5 separate regions of the Homo sapiens genome follow, and regions 1, 2, 3 and 4 are each linked to region 5. Evidence: promoter capture Hi-C in human tissues and cell types (Jung and others, 2019). All regions are on one chromosome and are shown on one strand. The core of a region is centred on a gene start or on the middle of the fragment in contact, and the rest is flanking DNA. Distances in the headings are between cores, read along the strand shown.

What was found. The method cuts DNA at HindIII sites, captures the fragments that hold promoters and counts their contacts. A contact is called where the count stands out against the background at its distance.
Region 1: a contact is called between a fragment that was not itself captured here and the fragment with the promoter of IQCF6 in region 5, in 2 of the 25 tissues and cell types used here (adrenal gland and thymus).
Region 2: a fragment that was not itself captured here is called in contact with the fragment with the promoter of IQCF6 in region 5 in 3 of the 25 tissues and cell types used here (H1 embryonic stem cells, ovary and pancreas).
Region 3: a contact is called between the fragment with the promoter of IQCF5 here and the fragment with the promoter of IQCF6 in region 5, in 2 of the 25 tissues and cell types used here (heart right ventricle and thymus).
Region 4: a contact is called between a fragment that was not itself captured here and the fragment with the promoter of IQCF6 in region 5, in 7 of the 25 tissues and cell types used here (IMR-90 fibroblasts, dorsolateral prefrontal cortex, heart right ventricle and 4 more).

The regions. Positions count from the first base shown.
Region 1 is chr3:51,853,764-51,856,463 of GRCh38, reverse strand. No RefSeq gene overlaps it. Among named protein-coding and RNA genes, the nearest start is that of IQCF2, 6.5 kb to the left of the region's middle. The HindIII fragment of the contact is 3,432 bases long and covers 1-2,700 here.
Region 2 is chr3:51,691,910-51,694,609 of GRCh38, reverse strand. The region is part of intron 3 of TEX264 (testis expressed 264, ER-phagy receptor); the gene reads right to left. It also overlaps the pseudogene RNA5SP132. Among named protein-coding and RNA genes, the nearest start is that of GRM2, 14 kb to the left of the region's middle. RefSeq lists an enhancer at 2,125-2,700. The HindIII fragment of the contact is 3,839 bases long and covers 1-2,700 here.
Region 3 is chr3:51,874,308-51,877,007 of GRCh38, reverse strand. It overlaps IQCF5 (IQ motif containing F5), which reads left to right and starts at 1,407. Exons shown (of 2, transcript NM_001145059.2): 1 at 1,407-1,480. The coding sequence starts at 1,477. It overlaps IQCF5-AS1 (IQCF5 antisense RNA 1), which reads right to left. Exons shown (of 3, transcript NR_109984.1): 3 at 1,241-2,620. The HindIII fragment of the contact is 13,062 bases long and covers 1-2,700 here.
Region 4 is chr3:51,891,895-51,894,594 of GRCh38, reverse strand. No RefSeq gene overlaps it. Among named protein-coding and RNA genes, the nearest start is that of IQCF1, 10 kb to the left of the region's middle. The HindIII fragment of the contact is 5,841 bases long and covers 1-2,700 here.
Region 5 is chr3:51,777,868-51,780,567 of GRCh38, reverse strand. It overlaps IQCF6 (IQ motif containing F6), which reads left to right and starts at 1,331. Exons shown (of 2, transcript NM_001368369.1): 1 at 1,331-1,415; 2 at 1,577-2,005. The coding sequence starts at 1,344. The coding sequence ends at 1,945. All of the region lies in intron 2 of LOC105377087 (a long non-coding RNA gene), which reads right to left. The HindIII fragment of the contact is 12,191 bases long and covers 1-2,700 here.

The DNA of each region.
Region 1 (2,700 bases), core at 49-2,548, 76 kb before region 5:
TGATTGGTGCGTTTTTACAGAGTACTGATTGGTGCATTTACAAACCTTTAGGTAGACACAGAGTGCTGATTGGTGCGTTTTTACAGAGTGCTGATTGGTGCGTTTACAAACCTTTAGCTAGACACAGAGTGCTGATTGGTGTGTTTTCAATCCTTTAGCTAGACAGAAAAGTTCTCTGAGTCCCCGCCTGACCCAGAAGCCCAGCTGGCTTCACTTCTCAATCCCCCCTCTAAACAGGACAACCCAACTGCTGTTGGGAATTGGGCAATGACCATTCTAGCAGCTTCCTGCTGGACAGGGGTGAAGAAGGGGCCCTGCAGTTTTAATGTCCTCCAGAGGGGAACACTTTAGGCCAGTGAAAGGGCCAGCAGGTTGGTCCAGGGGTCCTTGGTAGAAGTTGTTAGTTGAGCTCATTTGGGGTTCCATTTGTAAGACCATCTGTAGCTCAATGGCCTCGATCCTAGAGGAAACAAATTTGACAAAGAGGTTAAAAATACAGGGCCCAAAGGCGAGTAATAGCAAGATGGCTGCCATGGGACCTAGAAAGGGAAGAGGTCATGTTGCCCAACTCTAGAGGTTGGTATAAGAGTTTGAAAGGCATTGTCTGATTTCAGAAGCCTTTTCCTGTAAATGCCGGGTGGCATCTTGTACTCTCCCTGACTGGTTAGTGTAAAAACAACACTCTTCTCCTAAGAAGGTGCAGAGTCCTTCTTTCTCAGCAGTGAGGAGGTCTAGGCCTTGGCAGTTTGGAGAGTCACTGCTGCCAAAGAGTCTATTTGGGATTTTAGAGTAAGGATAGATTTCATTATTTCTTACAAACTGTCTGAGAAATCCTTTGAGAATGTGTGGTAGTAGGATTATGAAATAGATAAACTGGCTCTTCCGGTTCCTGTAGCAGTAGCCATTCCTAACCTTATAAGTAGGGGTATTAGTTGTATGGCTCTGTGCTGATGGACTTGAGCTTTGAGGGGTACTGATAGGGTCTGATTTCCACAAGATTAGAAGTTAGGATGATATATGTTTACACTGTTAACTTTTAGCAAACTTTACTTTTGTTGAAAACCTTGTAAGTTTGGGATTTCAATTATTCTTTGCTATTAATAAGACTTTGTTCAGTCCATATTAACTTAGAATTGGTATAGATGGCTCCTTCCTGATTCTGTAAGTTCTTTGAGGTTTGGCTGAGTGCAAAGAGCTCACACATTTGAGCAGACCAATTATTAGCCAATTTTCCTAACTCTGCTTCTACACGAGTTTCCTTATCATTTACTGAATACCCATTGTGTCTTTTTTCCTTAATTGCCTGGGAGGAACCATCTATCGTCCTGTCCTGAAGGGAGTTCCTCCTAGATCTGGTCTGACCTTTGTATGGTAATTAATTAAGATTTAGATCCCCTGTTAGGAAACCTGCTGGGTTAAGGATTTTTGATAGGAAGCCTACGTGTTGTCAGTGGCCTCAGTGCTTTCAGGCTATACCCTTGTTTACACTGACAACAAGGTGGTATTGGAGTGTTATAGGGTTACAGAGAAGACCTTCAATTATCAATTATAGGTTTTAAATTTACCCTGGCTTCTAAAGGAATAGGGTACACTGTTTTTTCTTTACTACTTCTATCTCTCTTTCTCTTTGACTTCTTCTTTGTCTCTCTCTTTCTGACTCCGTCTTTGTCTGTCTCTTCCTCTCTCTCTTTGACTTTCTGTGTCTCTCTTTCTCTCTCTCCCTGACTCCCTCTTTGTCTCTCTCTTCCTCTCTCTCTCTCTCTGACTTTCTGTCTCTTTCTCTCTTTCCTTTCTGCTGGTCTTTCCCTGCCTCTGCCAGCCACTTATGCTGCTGTTCTCCCCTCTCCTTCCCCTTTTGATGGCTTTGGCAGTGTAAGACTGTCACCTCCTTGGGTTTTTGCACTGCATGCAATAATTCCATGGTTTCCTTGTGGTATTTAATGGGGGTTCCCCCAGAGGTTAGGAACCCCCTTTCTTTCCATATTGCAGCATGGGCATGTAGGATTAGATAAGCATACTTGCTATCTGTATACACATTTATTCTTTTTCCCCTTCCCAGTTCTAAGTCTTGGGTAAGTGCCACTAGTTCTCCTAACTGGGTGCTGGTCCCTGGGGGAGGAGGCTTACTTTCAAGTATGGTTACATCACTAACTATGGCATAACCTGCCCTTCATATCCCATTCTTCATAAATAAACTTCCATCGGTATATAGGTTAAGGTCAGGATTAGCTAAGGGGACTTCTAAGAGATCATCTTGGGCGGCATAAGTCTGGACTATAATTTGTTGGCAGTCATGCTTGATTGGTTTCCCCATTCTCTGGGAAAAAAGTGGCAGAGTTGAGGGCCATACATGTGTGTATTTGAAGCACCGGTCCCTCAAGGAGTAGCGCCTGGTATCTAAGCAGGCGGCTGTCTGATAGCCATAAACTTCCTTTGGCATCTAGTAAACCATTTACATCATGAGTAGTCCAGACAGTGAGATCCTTTCCTTGTATTATTTTGATAGCCTCTGACACTAAGATTCCCACCACCACAACTACCTGTAAACAGTGAGGCCAGCCTTTTGCTACTACATCAATTTCCTTACTTAGGTATGCCACTGATGTGGGGTTGTCCCATGAATCTGAGTAAGGACTCCAAGAACTATTCCTGCTCTCCCTGTGATGTATAAAGAGAAGTTTTTTCCTGTGGGAAGGCTTA
Region 2 (2,700 bases), core at 31-2,530, 86 kb after region 5:
TCAATTTGCCCAAGTATGAAATAAAGGGTCTACAGTCATACCACCCTGAATGCACCTGATCTTGTCTGATCTCAGAAGCTAAGCAAGGTCGGGTCTAGTTAGTACTTGGATGGGAGACTGCCTGGAATACCGGGTGCTGTAGGCTTTTGGCCTATCGTTCCCTCCCTCTTTCCCTCTTTGGCCAGGCGCGGTGGCTCATGCCTGCAATCCTAGCACTTTGGGAGGTCAAGGCGGGTGGATTACTTGAGGTCACAAGTTTCAGACCAGCCTGGCCAACATAGTGAAACCCTGTCTCTACTACAAATACAAAAATTAACCAGGTGTGGTGACAGGTGCATGTAATCCCAGCTACCCGGGAGGCTGAGGCAGGAGAATTGCTTGAATGCGGGAGATGGAGGTGCAGTGAGCCGAGATCGCGCCACTGCACTCCAGCCCGGGCAACAGAGCAAAACAAGAAAGAAGGAAAGAAGGAAGGAAGGAAGGAAGGAAGGAAGGAAGGAAGGAAGGAAGGAAGGAAGGAAGGACGGACGGAAGGAAGGGGAAGGGAAGGGAAGGGAAGGGAGGAAGGAAGGAAGGAAGGAAGGAAGGAAGGAAGGAAGGAAGGAAGGAAGGAAGGAAGGAAAGAAAGGGATTAGAATAGATGATCTCAAAAGAAGTGAGGAACTGGAAAGGATGAATAAAAACACCATTATGTGACGGTAAGAAAACTATACTCAGAAAACCCAAAAAGAATCAATGGAGGGACTACCACAAACATTAAGTCACAAAGGTAACTCAAGCACAGCCCATTTTTCTGTGCAACAGATCAGCCAAGTAGAAAACATAATGGAGGCCGGGAGTGGTGGCTCACGCCTGTCATCCCAGCACTTTGGGAGGCCAAGGTGGGCAGATCACCTGGGGTCAGGAGTTCGAGACCAGCCTGGCTGACATGGTGAAACCCCATCTCTACTAAAAATACAAAAATTAGCTGGGCGTGGTGTCGGATGCTTGTAGTCCCAGCTACTTGGGAGGCTGAGGCAGAAGAATTGCTTGAATCCGGGAGGCAGAGGTTGCAGTGAGCCGCGATCGTGCCACCGCACTCCAGCCTGTGTGACAGAATGAGACTCTGTCTCAAAAAAAAAAAAAAAAAAAAACATAATGGAAACGAGATATAATGGCCCTCTTGGGGTTAGGTCGAGCCCAGGGCCAGCCTGGGAGCCACCGGCTGAAAGGCAGGGAATGGCAGAGGAGCCAGGGAGGCAGGTCCAGGCCTGGGTGGGAACCTGGGGAAGACTGCAGGAGTGGGAAGGTGTGAGAGAGAATGGGGCGGGAGACGGTGTGCTGTGCCTGGCACCCCAGCCTGCTGCGCCTGCTGCCGCCACTGCCTGAAGACTTTTCATTTTCACCTCAGAGCCGGCAGCTCACCACACAATTTACACCTCTATTCATCTCCCTGGCACGACGCAGGCCCTGGCTTCCTCGGTGTCCTGTGGAGGAGGGCCTAGGCAGCAGTCAAGCACAGGGCAGCCTGGGGTATTGAGGGGTGGGGAAACAATGTTTCCCTCTAAGCAGGCACATGGGACACAGGCTCTTAAGCACCTTAGTGCCCAGATGGACTGGGAGGCCCCTAATCCTGCATCCATACCCAGCCTTACCTTTCTCTAGGCCCAGAGGGCCAAGATACAACCCTGGTTCAGCCCTGCTCTGGCCTTCTTGGGCCTGGGCCGTTGTGTGGCCAGACCAGAGGGTTGGGGAGTACAGGAGTGAGTACCCCAAGGAGAGCTCAGCTAGAGCACTGGGTGAGTCAGCCCTGATCCCATTGCTCTCCCTTGCAAATCTGGGAGGAGAGCCACAGCCTTCCAGATGATGGCTCTACCATCGCAGGCTCCACAGCCCACCCCCTCTCCAAGATCCAGCATTCTTAGCAGCTTGTCTGTGTAGTCAAGGACCTTGAGCCCTGTCCTGCTCACAAGCTGACAAACTGGTTGCTGATGATTATCCAGCAGCAGGAAGGCTGCTCGTACAGATGGAGCTGGGAAGCCAAGCACCTGAGAGCCAGAGGAGTCAGGAATTGCCAGAGGGGAAGGACAAGTGGGCAAGTGGGAATGGAGAGGAGACAGGGGACAGAAGAGAGGGAGAGAAGGAGAAGGCCCTGAATTTCTCATCTCCAACTGGTACCTCTGACCTCTGCTCCACTCCTCAGTGAAGTCCTTTCCTTCCCACCTGCATAACTAGACAGCTAGCCTCTCCTAATCTGAGGGCTCAGCTGAAGAAGAAGTTGTTCTGCTTGGGGGAGAGGGGGTGCACTGCAAATTCTCTCCTTGGAATCTCTTTCCCCTCCCTAATTCCAATCTCAAGCTTCCTGGAGAAGAGCAACAGAATTCTTCTTTGATAAGTAAATTCCATCTGCCTGGGGAAGAAGGCTCCCTCTGGACTGGTGACAGCCCAACCCCACAGCACCATCCAGACAAGCTTCAGCCCCCAGGGTCCTGCAGGGCTGCCAAGCTACAATATCCGAGCTGGTATTTTGAGAGTGGTGGCTCCCACGCCGCCCTAGCAAAGGCTGGCTTTGTGCTTTCATTCCTGGGGGAAGGGAGGGAGGTGGGGTAAAGCCAGAGAGGCTAAGGAGCAGGTTCCAGTGCCTAGGCCAACAAAGGGGAGAGGCCTGGCTCCCAACACCTCAATACCCAAGGGTAGCTCCCTAAGGGGAGCCGGGGAAGC
Region 3 (2,700 bases), core at 158-2,657, 96 kb before region 5:
CCACTGCTGTGTCCCCATTGACGACAGCTGTCCCCACTGCAGTGCACACACATGGATTCACAGTGTGCCTTCTTCAGAGTCTGGCTTCTTTTGCTTGGCTAATTTTTTAAGATTCAGGATGGAGGTTTTTTAGCGGGATTTTTCTAGAAACGATGAGAACCGGAAGCTTTGGGAAAACATGGAGATGCTGGGGTCTGCATGATGTGGTGGTTTAGAGCCAAGGCTCAGGGTGGAGCAGAGCTGGGACCAAATGCTAGCTCCACAGCTGACCAGCTATGAAACAGGGTGACGTGAGCCAGGCATGATCTCTGCACCTCCATTGCGAAGTGGGACTAATATCACTGCATTGCTATTACCACGGACAGGAATGTGGTGACTAGTGGCTTGACTCAGGAGCCAGACTGATGGAGGCACTAAATTGACAGAGGTCTCCCGGGGGCCTGGCCAAGATCTTTATCTTCAAATAGGTGCTTCCTGCTCCCTCTCTGTCCTACACATTGTACCCCACTATTTCCCCATCCCCCACCTCATTGCTGTCTTCCCCACTCCCTCATTCCATTAACTTCAAACTGACACCCCCGCCATCCTCAAAGCACCTCCTCCTCTTCCCTACATTCCCCCTACAGATCCACATCGGCCTCTCCCATACTCACCCTACACATTCCCAGTGCATTCCTCAGTGACCACGGGGGCTGTGCCTCACCACGTCCAGCTGGGTCTTAAGAGGTTGCAATCAGGCAGAAAGGGGCCCTGCTTCTGCAGAGGCCACCCTCATCTATCTGATCGTGGCCTTGAGGTGCTCAGGGACAGAGGAAGACAGGAGAGCACTTTAACCCATTTGAGCTTTGGATGGAGCCCAGGCTAGTCCTGGGGGCCTCAAGGAGTTTTCTGGCCTGTGTGTGTCCTGTCCTCTCAGGTGCCTAAAAACAGACTGACCTGCAGATAGGTCAGACATAGGGGGCTTAGCAACAGTGAAGGAGTTTTTCGTGTCCCTCCAATTCCACCGTCCTCATCAGAGATATTGTTAGTTTTTGTGTACATCCTTCTATCCCCCCTTTTTAAGATAATGCCTTTACAGCACATGTGTATAAATGTGTGTTTATATTGGGATCACCTTGCCTTTCATCTTGATTTGATTCACTTATGAAATCTTGTACTTTTCTATATCTGTACATAGAGAGCAAACCCATTCTAATAGTTATTTGGAATACCAGGGTGTAAAGGAACTGAAAGGCATTTAATGAATACCAGCCAGATTTTAATGAGCAGCATTATATACCTTTGTGTCAATGGGTCAGTACTTGGGGTCTTCTAGGTTTTCCTTAGAAGAGGCTCATATGCTGGAAGCTGTCCTGGTGCCTGCATCACAGGTGCCCTTATGACATCACAGGTCCCGCCCTTCCTCCACTCTTCCTGTTGGAGTCCTGATCGGAGGAGTGCGGGCCGGAGGGTGATGGGACCATCTAGCCCCTAACCATGGGTAATTTAGTAAAGTCCAGACCTGTGCGAATTTTACGACCTGTCCCCAGTCAGATGTTTTGTAAGAGGCAGTCAGAACCACACTAGCTTTCTGAGGGGAGAGTAAGTTCCCCACAGTTACTCATGACAGGACCCCCCTCCATGTTTGAAGTCCTAGAGAAAGCCAGGAAGCTGTCTAGAAACAGTGAGAATGGTGTTTGACTTGGCACCTAGCAGTGGGAGAGCACCTTTCACTTTCTTCCCTATTTCCCCCCATACACTCTGATTCCAGAAGGATGGCAAGCTGTTTTAAATGATCATTAAACATAATGATGAAATCACATCGATAGAACAGAGCTGGAAGGAACAAAGGGGAGAAGAGGGAAGCGACTCCACCCCCAACACCCTCACCCCTACCAGGCCACACCCTTACCCACAACTCCGTGAGTGGCTGGGTCCAGAGAGCCTTAACTAGTGACATCTCTGACCCCTGTGGTCCAGCAGAGTGACTCAAAGATCTATGACCCTGTAATTTATTGTACAAAGAGTGGCTTCAGTGAGGGAAACAGGCACCTGTCCTCATTACCTGACATCAATCAGGGTGTTCCAGAAAAACTGGGGTGAAACGTCAGGGTATGCAGAGCTGGAATGAATGGGGACTGGCTGTCTCTTGCCCCCATTTTCTTGTCAGGCGGAGAGATGTGAGTCTGGCTGAGATACGGAGTGGAGACTGTGGCCAGGAGTGGGGCAGAGGAGTGTGATCCCGGACCATATAGGGCTGGGGGCTGCAAGTGGGGACTGTGGGGAATGCAGGACCAAGGGGCAAAATGTGTGTTAGTGTGTGGAGTGTGCATGTTTGTACAGATGCATGCATAGCTGAAGTTCAAGCTGTTCACAATGTGTGTGAGGTGGAGGAATCTGTTACCACTTTGGTGAGGAGGAAGGAACACAGCAGCTTGTGGGTTTGACTTGAAGTCAGAGTAAAGAGGGCAGGAGGAGCAAAGGACACCACTTCTTCAGCGGATGGGAGGGCTCTGAAGGGAAGAGTCATGGATCCCAGGTAGATGGCAGCTCTTTTACCTCTAAGTCACAGTGTTCTTGCTCTAGACTGGCCAGCAAGGTCCATGGAAAATGGAATGAGGTAGCTAGGGCAGATGTACACCTATTTTGCAGATGGGGACATTGAAACTCAGAGGTCAAGTGAGGTGAGCACATCCACTAACCTGTGGGTGGCAGAGGGGG
Region 4 (2,700 bases), core at 126-2,625, 110 kb before region 5:
GGAAGCCTGGCGGGTGGTGGTCATGGCAATGGCAACACATTCTCCAGGAATTCACTCGTCTGGGTCTAGTTGCTCAGGGCTTGTTCCCCAACCCCTAGGACTGAGAGGAGCCCCCCAACCCCAAGCCCTGTGATCTTGTCTCCCTGCTGCACTGGGGGCTATGTCCTTATACTTGGCTTCTAAGAATCTGAGACCCAAACTGGAAGCTGTTAGCATAACTCAAGTCCTCATCCTAACCCCAAACCCCAACTGTCCCTTGCCCTCGAGCCCCGTATGAAAACTAGGACTCATTTTCCTCCAGACCAGGCTGGTATGGGAGGTTCCACAGGCAAGGGGGTGGGAGAGAGGGCATTTTGCTGCCAACCCAACCCTCTGGTGAGTGTTAGACCTCAGGCTATCACAGCTGCAGGAGCTGAGGAGGCATTAGTTTTGTGTTCCTTACCCTCCCCACTGGCCCAACTTCTGCAAGGGCCAATCCAGGCAGAGCTGGCTCCTCTGAAAGTCCCTCCCTGTGAAATGCTGCCAGCTGGGGTGGGGTTGGGGCCCAGGTGATGATAAGGGCCAAATAAGAGGTGAAGATTTGCATTACTCTGATGATTACTGATGTTGAACAATTTTTCATATACCTGTTTGCCATTTAGCAGGTAACAATGTAGTATATATTTCTAGATACTTAAAAAAAGATTTTGAATGTTGTCACTACAAAGAAATGATAAATGTTTAAAGTGATGGATATGGTAAATATCCCAATTTGGTCATTATAGTATATATACATGCATTGAAATATAACATTGTACCCCATAATTATGTATAATTATTGTCAATTATAAATTAAAAAATTAATAACAACAAAAAAAGAGGTTAAGATTAGGCTGAACATCTGCCTGTCAACACTGCTGTCCCTGTCCTGTGGTTCCCTGCACAGAGGGAGGATTCTGAGGTCTGGGTCACAGCCCTATGTCCAGCCCTGCTTCAGTGACTGTGCCCTGGAGAGCTGGTCCCTCAGCTCATAGATGTTCTGAGATGCTGCCCAGAAGTCTCAGGCTCTAGCTCTCGAGCATGAGCTCTGTATTTCCTGCTCTGTCCTGCCATGTCCTGCCCCTTGTGTCTCATTCAGGGCCTGGGTCTCTCATACCCACTCTGAAGGATTCTTGTCTTTCTCCTTGCCCCTGTTGTCCTGTGTTCAGAGTATCAGGGCACAGAGCTCTGACCTCTGACTGCTCCACCTCTCATTGCCCTGTGGCCATAGACAAGTGATTTCCCCTCTCTGAGACCAGTGTCCTGAGCTGTGAACTGGTGCTAACCTTCCCCACCTTCCAGGGTAAACAGTCAAGCACCATAAAAACTAGCATCTTCAAAACATCAAGTTTGTACACCTACATTGTATTTAACTTTGTTAATTATACCTCAATAAAGCTAAAAAATAATTCTGCATCAGCATCAAAACAAGGAAAGGGGTCACAAACAAGCCTTAAATACTGGTAGCCATGGAAAAAGCAGCCAATTCTGGGGTCAGCTGGAGTGGCCCAGCAGAGCATATGGAGGCATGCTCATCATTGTTGAGGTACTCCCACTCCCAGGCCTCCTCAGTGGACAGAGCCAGGAAATACATGTTTGTGTATATGCACAAGCATCGCACATTTATATCTGTGTTCATTTCTGTGCCTATCTATATGGAAATCTGTGAGCTCACACTGATACCTCCAATCCCAAATTTAAGAATTCACTCTAGTTTTCTCCTTTCCATATTTCTTTTCTTTTCTTTCCTTTTTGAGATGGAGTCTGGCTTTGTTGCCCAGGCTGGAATGCACTGGCACAATCTCGGCTCACTGCAACCTCCGCCTCCCTGGTTCAAGCAATTCTCCTGCCTCAGCCTCCCGAGTAGCTGGGATTATAGGCGGCCACCACAACGACTGGCTAATTTTTGTATTTTTAGTAAAGACAGGGTTTTGCCATGTTGGCTGGGCTGGTCGTGAACTCCTGACCTCAAGTGATCCACCCATCTCGGCCTCCAAGTGTTGGGATTACAGGTGTGAGCCACTGTGCCCGGCCTCCTTTCCATATTTCTACCTCTTCTTTTCTGAGAATGACACCCCTAGCTCCCATGATCTTTAATACATTTTCTTATTTGATCTTCCCTTTGTGCAACTAATTCTGCACAGCTACTGCTGGCCCCTCTCTCACAGAGACAATGGCCCATTTCTCTTGATCTCTGATATACGATGCCGTCTATTGTCCTCTTCTTGTGGCTCAGGCTGTGGCTCCCTACATTGGTCTGACGACTGGGGTAAATGCTCTTTCACCCAACCTGAGCTGACACAAAATGTCAGGCTACCCTCTGCGTGGATATCCTCCTCACTGTGCTCAAGTTCTGATGGTCTATGCCACCAAGGATGCCCTTCTCATCCTGCCCAATATGACGCTATTACTGGTATGGACTTACATCCCTGTGTGAACTCCTCCTCCCACTGCCTGGGTTCCATACTGGTCCCTCCTAGAACAATGCTTTCCTCCTCTGTCTTGTGACCCTCCCTCACCTGGCTCTGTTCCATGGTGGCTCTCTTTCCCCCTGGTGCAGCTATGTTGCACTGCCCAGCCTGAGGATTTCAGACTGACGGAGTGATTCAGGAAGGAAAGGGGGAAAAAAAATGAAGGCAAGGGCAAGAGAAAACTAAATTTTCAATTAAAAAAAAAGGAGAC
Region 5 (2,700 bases), core at 82-2,581:
CTGGTTGTGCCCTACAATCACAGGAATTCAGATAAATTCTATTTCACAAAATTCCCACCAAGAAAAGAAAAAAGTATGGAAATGTTTAAAATTGTATCATTGCATTGTCAAGTATATTCCTGAAAAGAGAGAGCTTCAATTTTAATCAGGCATCAATGAGACTTGAATCTTCCACTTATAGTTTTACACATCTAATAACAGGAAGAATTTTCTACAGACTGGCTTCTGGTTCCATACTTTTCACATTTACTTTTCCTCCCCTGCCCAAATACTTTTGGTGCCAGCACTGGAAGACACGTTCTTATTGGATAGCAGCCCTTCTGTTCCTGCATCTTCACGCCATGAGCAAGGTGAATGAACACAGCAACAGCAGAATGGCTAGCAAGGATTTATGTGTTCCCAAGGGTGACTGTGAACCACACAAATCTATGCTGTTAAACTGAGTCTAGGCCGGGCGCGGTGGCTCACGCCTGTAATCCCAGCACTTTGGGAGGCAGAGGAGGGCGGATCACGAGGTCAGGAGATCGAGACCATCCTGGCTAACACAGTGAAACCCCGTCTCTACTAAAAAGACAAAAAATTAGCCGGGCGTGGTGGCGGGCACCTGTAGTCCCAGCTACTCAGGAGGCTGAGGCAGGAGAATGGCCTGAACCTGGGAGGCGGAGCTTGCAGTGAGCCGAGATTGTGCCACTACACTCCAGCCTGGGCGACAGAGCGAGACTCTGTCTCAAAAAAAAAAAGAAAAAAAAAAACTGAGTCTATCCCAACTCAGCCTTCCCTTAGTCTCGTGGCAAAAGAGGTTGCCATTCCACCCCACTCAACAGGAGGTGAGTGACAGAGGGAGTAAGAGGGAAGAGAGACAGAGGTCCTCTCCAATTGCAGCTGAAATATCTTGCTTTCACAAATTTTACCCAAAAATATACAGCTCTGTAAACACGTTCCTCGGGCCCTGACAGGCGCCCTGACACTTAAGCTTCAGGAAATCCAAATTGGCTATGAGTAGAGGCTTAAAGTAAAACTCCTTCCTTGTAGGTAAGCTGCATGACTCTCTCTTCACTGCCATCAGGAGGATCAGGAATGCCACTGGGGCTGAGAAATAAACTGAAGGCAAGAGATAATGGTAGGCTCCCAAAGTGGTGGGAATCAATAAAGCAAAAGAGATGAAAGCAAGAGAAGAGGAGAGAGAAATGTGGTTAAAATGCGTGCAGACGGGACCTGATGAGGTAGAGTCTTGTGTGCAAGTGGGCGGAGTCCAATGATGGAGGTGTGACTAACAGTTGAGGGTGGGGCTAAAGACAAGGGTGGCCTAAGTGACAGATAAGTGGACCCTAAGGATCAAGGCCATGGACACGCAAAATGTGAGTAAGGCCCTTGCAGTAGGGACTTACCTGACAGGTAATGAACCGTGTCTAAATGTGAGTGGGGGATTGGAAACAAGATGGATGGGCCCTAGAAACAAGAAGTCAGGGGCACCTGGGCCAGGCCTTCTTTCCTCCCAAGATCAGAGATGGGGATAGGAACAGGAGGGGAGGGTCCCCCATTGAGCATCTCCCTGTTTTTCCTTTCCCCCAATCAGTTAGAGAAGACAGCCATAAAGATTCAGTCATGGTGGCGTGGAAACATGGTGCGCCGGACGTTACTGCAGGCAGCACTCAGAGCCTGGGTCATCCAGTGCTGGTGGAGGTCAATGCAGGCCAAGATGTTGGAGCAAAGACGGCGCCTGGCACTAAGACTCTATACCTGCCAGGAGTGGGCGGTGGTGAAGGTGCAGGCACAGGTTCGAATGTGGCAGGCCCGCAGGCGGTTCCTCCAGGCACGCCAAGCGGCCTGCATCATCCAGTCTCACTGGCGCTGGCATGCCAGCCAAACCCGAGGCCTGATCCGGGGCCACTATGAGGTCAGAGCCAGCCGGCTGGAGCTTGACATCGAAATCCTCATGACCTAGGGCGCTGACAGAGCCAAGGAGGCTGGATCTCTCTTCCAATAAAGACCCTTACTGACCATACACTTGCCCTTTGGAGATTAGACTCATGGAGGAGGGTTCAGCCTCTAAGTTTTCTGCCTTCCCCCCAGAAAGATTCCCTGGTGTGGTCTAGAGCCCCTGTCCTCAGGTCACCAACCTAGGCCCCTGTTCCTAACAGCATACCGGGACAGTCTTGCATCCAAGAGAGACCCCAGGGCCCAGGTCAAGCAATGATGCCTCAGTCAGCCTGATTTTGGCCCCTTCCACAGTGGGAGTAGGCATTGGGCTTTAGTTTCCTGCAGCCCCTGTCCAGGCATCTCCATTCAGATCAGAAGATCAGAGAATCTGGCTGCAGCCAGGGCCAGCTGGGAAGGCCAGGATTCCACAGGCCTGTGCTTGGCAAGGCCCTCAGGGCCGGCAGAGTGCTTGGCAGGGAGCCAGGAGGACATGGCACTTCAGCTGGGCAACAGCAGGACAGACGCTGTGCCTTATGGTGGGGAAGGGAGTCAGGGAGCAGCCAGCCAGAGCCAGCCCCTGGGGAAGCCAGAGCAGGAGCTGAGGGCAGCAGCTGTGCCTGCCGCCTGCCCACCCTGGGGCTGAACAACAAGGCTTCCCTCCCCTCTGCTGGGCACTTCCTTGGAGAACCAGGCATGGGATCAGGGAGGGGAGAGAGACTTGGGGGCTGTGGGGGGATGGTTGTGGGGGTGGCATGGGGGCAGGTAAACAAACAGAGGACT